Regions from separate parts of the Homo sapiens genome. Here region 1 is linked to region 2. Evidence: promoter capture Hi-C in 16 types of primary human blood cells and fetal thymus (Javierre and others, 2016). All regions are on one chromosome and are shown on one strand. The core of a region is centred on a gene start or on the middle of the fragment in contact, and the rest is flanking DNA. Distances in the headings are between cores, read along the strand shown.

Evidence for each region. Contacts are between HindIII fragments. The CHiCAGO score rates a contact against its expected background, and 5 or more counts as called.
Region 1: a contact is called between a fragment that was not itself captured here and the fragment with the promoter of CD300E in region 2, in 1 of 17 cell types (monocytes). The highest score is 5.8, in monocytes.

Annotation. Positions count from the first base shown.
Region 1 is chr17:74,714,522-74,717,876 of GRCh38, forward strand. It overlaps a transcript of RAB37 not described here. Among named protein-coding and RNA genes, the nearest start is that of CD300LF, 3.3 kb to the left of the region's middle. The HindIII fragment of the contact is 1,734 bases long and covers 1,080-2,813 here.
Region 2 is chr17:74,622,119-74,625,437 of GRCh38, forward strand. CD300E (CD300e molecule) reads right to left here and starts at 1,620. Exons shown (of 4, transcript NM_181449.3): 1 at 1,464-1,620. The coding sequence starts at 1,503. The region is part of intron 3 of LOC101928343 (a long non-coding RNA gene); the gene reads left to right. The HindIII fragment of the contact is 4,294 bases long and covers 962-3,319 here.

The DNA of each region.
Region 1 (3,355 bases), core at 697-3,196, 93 kb after region 2:
AAGGAAGCTCCTACTGCTGTACCCCAGCCCACCAGGTGAGATCCCAGGGATACCTACATCTGGAATCTTCCAGAAACCTGTCCATTGTACCAGGGGGTCTACCTGAGGAAACCAGTTCATTGCTCAGGACTATTATCCCCTCGCTCCACCCCTCACCTTATAACTATTTGTTGAAGGAAGGAAGGAAGAAAGGAAGGACCAGTTTTGCCCCTCACTCTCCTCCTTCTGACAATCATGTCCATCCCCCATCTCTCCTTTCCCATCAAGACCCCAGCAAGTCCCTAGGGTCGGGACTGGGGATATAAAAGGATTAGGAAGGGCCAGACTCAGTGGCTCACACTTGTAATCCCAGCATTTTGGGAGGCCAAGGCAGGTGGATCACCTGAGGTCAGGAGTTCGAGATCAGCCTGGCCAACATGGCAAAACCCCGTCTCTACTAAAAATACAAAACTTAGCCGGGTGTGGTGGTGGGTGCTTATAATCCCAGCTACTCAGGAGGCTGAAGCAGGAGAATAACTTGAACACAGGAGGTGGAGATTGCAGTGAGCTGAGATCGCACCATTGCACTACAGCCTGGGCAACAAGAGTGAAACTCCATCTCAAAATAAATAAATAAATAAAAATAAATAAAAGGATTAGACCTTTCTCACCTTCTGCACCTGGAGCCACTTTTGCCATGTGTCACATACACCCTGTGACATCTTGACAAGGGAGTGAGTCTCAAAGAGGGACGCAACCCCCTCACACCCTAATCAGGAATGAGTGGGTGTGCAGAGGGTTATTTGCACAGAAAACCACAGCAGCTGATAAGCCATGGCTTTTCCAGGACGTGGCCAGAGATGGCTTCTCGCTTTACATATCTGCAGACCATAAAGTAGGTCAAGAATCCGGGGTGAGGGCTTGGCCAGCCCTTTGGTCCCTGCTGCATGTCAATAGGTCCTCTGCCCAGGGCACCATGCAGATACTCAGAGAGCAATCAGCCCTCTGCAGTAGGGAAGCCATTGGCTTCCAGGAAAAAGGACCAGGAATGGGGGCTGCCCTGAAAAACAAGGGGCAGATGCATCGAGGGTGGTGGGGTAAGCTTTCTTCTCCTGGGCATGAGCAACAAGGAGGGAACAGCACTGTCTGTTAGAACTGCCTGTGGCCAGACCCTCTGATCGTGGCCTCTCCCAGACCTGGCCTCCCCAAGAAGGATTCCCCTTTGAAACAAGAACAGAGAATTCAGGCCGGGCACGGTGGCTTACACCTGTGATCTCAACTCTTTGGGAGGCTGAGGCAGGCGGATCACCTGAGGTCAGGAGTTCAGGACCAGCCTGGCCAACATGTCGAAACCCCATCTCTACTAAAAAATACAAAAAATTAGCCGGGCATGGTGGTGGATGTCTGTAATTCTAGCTACTAAGGAGGCTGAGGCAAGAGAATTGCTTGAACCCGGGAGGCAGAGGTTGCAGTAAGCCGAGGTCACAACACTGCACTCCTCCAGCCTGGGTAACTGAGCAACACACTGTCTCAAAAAGAAAAAGCAGAGAATTCGCCAAGTGGTTCTGAGTAGCTGCTCCTCTAACCAAGTGCCTATGGGGAATACAGGGGAATCGGCTCTTCTGCAGGCCTTGCGTCCTCAAAAACTCATTTGAACCTGTAATCCTGGTTTGACCATTGACCTATACACAAGCCAGTTATATCCCTGGGCTTCCCTGTCCCCATATGTGAAAGCAGGGATTAGACAGGTCATCTGAGATTCTCCCTGCTCTAACGCACCTATGTATGTATGTATGTGTGTGTGTGCATGTATGTACGTGAATGGTTGAACCTGTCATTCTGCCCTGGCCTTGTGTGCTCTGCTAGGGGACTCTGTCTAGCACCTAAGAACCAGTCTCTGTTTTTATAAATCATAATTCTTCTCAGAAACCATTCCTGAGCCCTTTTAGTTCCCCTCACTTCCAATTGCACTTTATCTTTCCCAACCACTTGTGCTATGTTTCATATTTTCCATCATTATTACATTGAATCCTCACTATAAATCTAGAGGAAAGGTGATGCGTTTCTCATTTTTCAAAGAAATTGAGACGCAGAGAGCAAGTGACGTGTCCAAGGTCACATAGCTAGTAAGTGGCAGAGCCAAGATTCAAACCCAGGCCTGGTTCATATAAGCCATGCTGCCTTGTGTCAGGGTCAGGGAGGGGGCAGAGAAAGAGAGAGAGAGAGAGAGAGAGAAAACAGCCCTTAGATCCTGCTCAGTGCTGACAATGAAGAATTGATAAAGCAGAGAATCCCGGAGCTGGTTGTCACCAGGGCGTCCACTCCAAGGTTGTTTTTTAAACAAATTTCCTGGCCGGGTGCAGTGGCTCACGCCTGTAATCCCAGCCCTTTGGGAGGGCAAGGTAGGCGGATCACCTGAGGTCAGGAGTTCAAGACCAGCCTGACCAACATGGTGAAACCCTGTCTCTACTAAAAATACAAAAAATTAGCTTGGCATGGTGATAGGTACCTGTAGTCCCAGCTGCTCAGGAGGCTGAGGCAGGAGAATCACTTGAACCTGGGAGGCAGAGGTTGCAGTGAGCTGAGATCGCACCATTGCATTCCAGCCTGGGCAACGAGAGCGAAACTCTGTCTCAAAAATAAAATAAAATGAAATAAAACAAATTTCAGAATGAAAGAATGTTTTATCATGCACTGAAAACTGACTTATTAAGCAGGTAACTGATACCACCAGCCTTGAACATTTTCCAGATCTCATGCCCCTCTTCTGCAGTGTATGGAATGGGAATCTGGGCCTTACCCAAGTTCTTGTCCAGGAATTCAGGCACAGGCAAAGCTTATTTCTGAGAAAAATAGGCGTCTCCAAAGAGTGAGTCTGAAAGTTTGTGTCTCTCGAATTTCATACGTTGAAACTTAACCTTCAATGTGATGGCATTACGAGGTTGAGCCTTTGGAGAGTAACTAGGTCAGGAGAGTAACTAGGTCTCCTGAATGGGATTAGTGCCCTTATAAGAAAGGCCCCAGAGGGCTGGGCGCGGTGGCTCATGCCTGTAACCCCAGCACTTAGGGAGGCCGAGGCAGGCAGATCACCTGAGGTCGGGAGGGAGTTCAAGACCAGCCTAACCAACATAGAGAAACCCCGTCTCTACTGAAAATACGAAATTAGCCAGATGTGGTGCATGCCTGTAATCCCAGCTACTCAGGAGGCTGAGGCAGAAGAATTGCTTGAACCTGGGAGGCAGAGGTTGTGGTGAGCCAAGATCGTACCATTGCACTCCAGCCTGGGCAGCAAGAGCGAAACTCCATCTAAAAAAAAAAAAAAAAAAACAGAAAAGAAAAAGAAAGGTGCCAGAGAGCTGCCTTGCCCCTTCTACCA
Region 2 (3,319 bases), core at 370-2,869:
TGTATTTGAATTTGCTTCCTTCCTCTTTGTCATTTCCCCTCCCTGCTAGAATTGCCCTTTCCATCTCTCTTTCCCAGTTAAGATTTTCAGAGGGACCTGCGCAGGTCACATTGCGAGTCTGAGGATGGGGAATGAGATAGGGGTGGAAAGAGAGATGGAAAGGGCAAAGAAAAAGGAAGCAAATTCAAATACAAAATGAGCAAACATTGGTTGAGTGCAGTGGCTCATGCCTGTAATCCCAGTGCTTTGGGAGGTCAAGAGAGGAGGATTGCTTGAGCCCACGAGTTTGGGTCCATGTCACCTACCTGGTCTTCTTCCTTTAAATCGCTGTCATTTTCACTCACCCTTCTAGAAAGAATCTTGTCATTACATTGGGCAATTTCTATGTTTTGTGAGGGAACTCAACCATAAAATTCATTCTGCAAACATGAAGAATGTCCTCTAATTTTTAGCCTAAATTTATTTCCCCAGAGACAAATGTGTTTTCCTGCAGTTTTGTATTTTGAATGTCTATTAATAAGAGTTTCTCTTCTGAAGTCCAACCTTTGCAGGACAGTTTCATTTACTTGTTTACACCACACCTTGTTCCGGGAAGGATTTAAGGTAGATGTTGAGGATGGCATTTTTTTTTTTCAGACAGGATCTCAACTCTATCACCCAGGCCAGACTGCTGCAGTGGTGCAATCTCGGCTCACTGCAACCTCCGCCTCCCAAGTTCAAGCGATCCTCCTGCCTCAGCCTCCCTAGTAGCTGGGACTACAGGCATGCATCACCACGCCCAGCTAATTTTTGTATTTTTAGTAGAGACAGGGTTTCACCATGTTGGCCAGGCTGGTCTCAAACTCCTGACCTCAGGTGATCCACCCACCTTGGCCTCCCAAAGTGATGGGATTACAGGCGTGAGCCACCACGCCCAGCCCATTAATTATTTCTCACAAACCATTCCAACCCCTTTACACTAAGCTTCGTCAAAACAGAACTATTGTTAATTCTTGAACTCTCCATGGTCTTTAATGTCCTCACACTTGCACATAAGCTATTCCTTTCCCACTCAGCCAACTCATTCATCCTGCAGGATGGACTTCCAATGAAGCCTCAGTGACATCTCCCACCCTTCCAAGAGCAAAGTGAGGGGTTCCTGTTGCATACTCTCATCACCACATGAATGAGTCTCTACAACAGTAATTTCCACATTGTATTGTAGTTAGTTGACTCCCTCAGTTCAGAAGTTACTCTTAATTACAGCACCCAGAACAGTCCTGGCACATATCTGGTGCTCAGTAAGTGTTTGTAGGATCCGTGGATGAATGATTGAATGTATAGAAGGATGCACAGGTGAATGAACGGATGTATCTTTCCCTTTTCTGTGGACACTTCACCTCTGGTTTGAACCCAGGACAGCTCTTCTACCTACTGTCCTGCCCCCTGCAAAACCAAGTCCCCAAAGCCACAGCCCCACTCACCTGAGAGGCAGAGAAGGAGTAGAGCTGGGAGCAGCCACATGTTCCTGTCTCCTTGGCTTCCGTCCTCAGCAAATCTAGGTCCCAGCTGGAATCCAAGTATATGTAACGGAGCCTGGGTCATCCACTTTCTACTTGTCCAAGTTTCCTTTGTGTTCTCACTCATCTATTTCCTCTTTTGCCTTTTAAAGAATGCTTCCTAATTTTAAGCCTTACTTAGCAGAAGAGAAAGGGTGGCAAGAGACGTTTCTGAGAATGGACCAAGCACAAACAGGAAAATCTGTTGGCCTTCATTTAATGTGAACGTAATGTTTGAGTCACCCCCTGAGATTTCATGACTCGGAATTTCATGAAAGTCAGTCCCAGTTTACGAAACCTCTCCAACAGAGAAAACTCTGTTCCCTGCCTCTTTCACTCTTCTTCCTATCTGGGATTACTTCATCGATCTAAGGAGCTTCCCTTCTCTATGGCTGCCTACTTTTGAATCATAAAACACCCTCTACTTAAGGAGCTGTGGTGATCACTCCCCATGTCTTTCTCAACCGTTATCTCCATGCGGATGACTTCACACCTCTTCCTCTAACCCAATATCCCAATATCTCTCCTGGGCTCCAGATCCTACTTTCTAACTTCCTATAGGGAAGCTCCACCTGGTTATACACTGTTAACCTAGTTCAGTATATGGGTCATGGTCAACAGCATAGATTCTGAAGTCACACAAACTCAAATCTCATCTCCATCATTTATTAATCATCTGACCTTGGGCATGTTGCCAAATCACTCTCCTCCTCAGTCTCCTCATCTGTAAAATAGAGTACTCATGACAATTCTTTCTCAAAGGGTTGCCACAGGAAATAAATGAGTTAATGTAAGTAAAGTGCTTGATACAGTGCCTGGAACATAGTAACTGCCCAGTTAATATTAAATACCTTTAGAATAGTCCTGGACCATTGAAATAGCTTCTCATCTGGTCCCTCCACTAGCTATACATTCTCTCTAATCCAACTTGCACATCAGAAGATACTCTTCTCTAAGACATAGCTATCTGAAAATATAATTTCTTTCCTTCTCTTTCCCCAGAGATACCCATCTTTGATACCCACAGCCTCTAATCTTTACTATCTTTTAGAACTCTACTGGATCATCTGATATTTCAAACTTTTGTTGTAAGAGCACAACTTCTTATCTTTTCTGTACCACCATATCTGATGAAGTATTATATAGCCAGGCATGGTGGCACGTGCCTGTAATCCCAGCTACTTGGGAGGCCAAGGCAGGAGAATCACTTGAACCCAGGAGGTGGAGGTTGCAAAGCAATGAGCCAAGATCACACCATTGCACTCCAGCCTGGCAACAGAGAGAGACTCCATCTAAAAAAAAAAGAAAGAAAGATGAAAGAAAGAAAGAAAAAGAAAGAAAGAAAGATAGATAGATTATATATAGAATAGAGCCCTGGATGGAACAATAAAACACCAGGACCCTGGTCCCATGTGTGACATGAGCCACACACTTGAGGGATCCAGAATGAGCAGAGCTGACAGTAGCCACAACATTGTGTCTTAGTCCATTTTCTTCTACTATAACAGAATACTACAGGCTAGCTAATTTATAAAGAACAAAAGTTGGCAGGTGCAGTGGCTCATGCCTGTAATCCTAGCACTTTGGGAGGCCGAGGCACGTAGATCACTTGAGGTCAGGAGTTTCAGACCAGCCTGGCCAACATAGCAAAACCCTGTCTCTAACAAAAATACAGAAATTAGCCCTGCATGGTGGTATGAGCCTGTAGTCCCAGCTACTCAGGAGGCTGAGGTGGGAGAATTGCTTGAACCCAGGAGACGAAAGTTGCAGTGAGCCAAGAT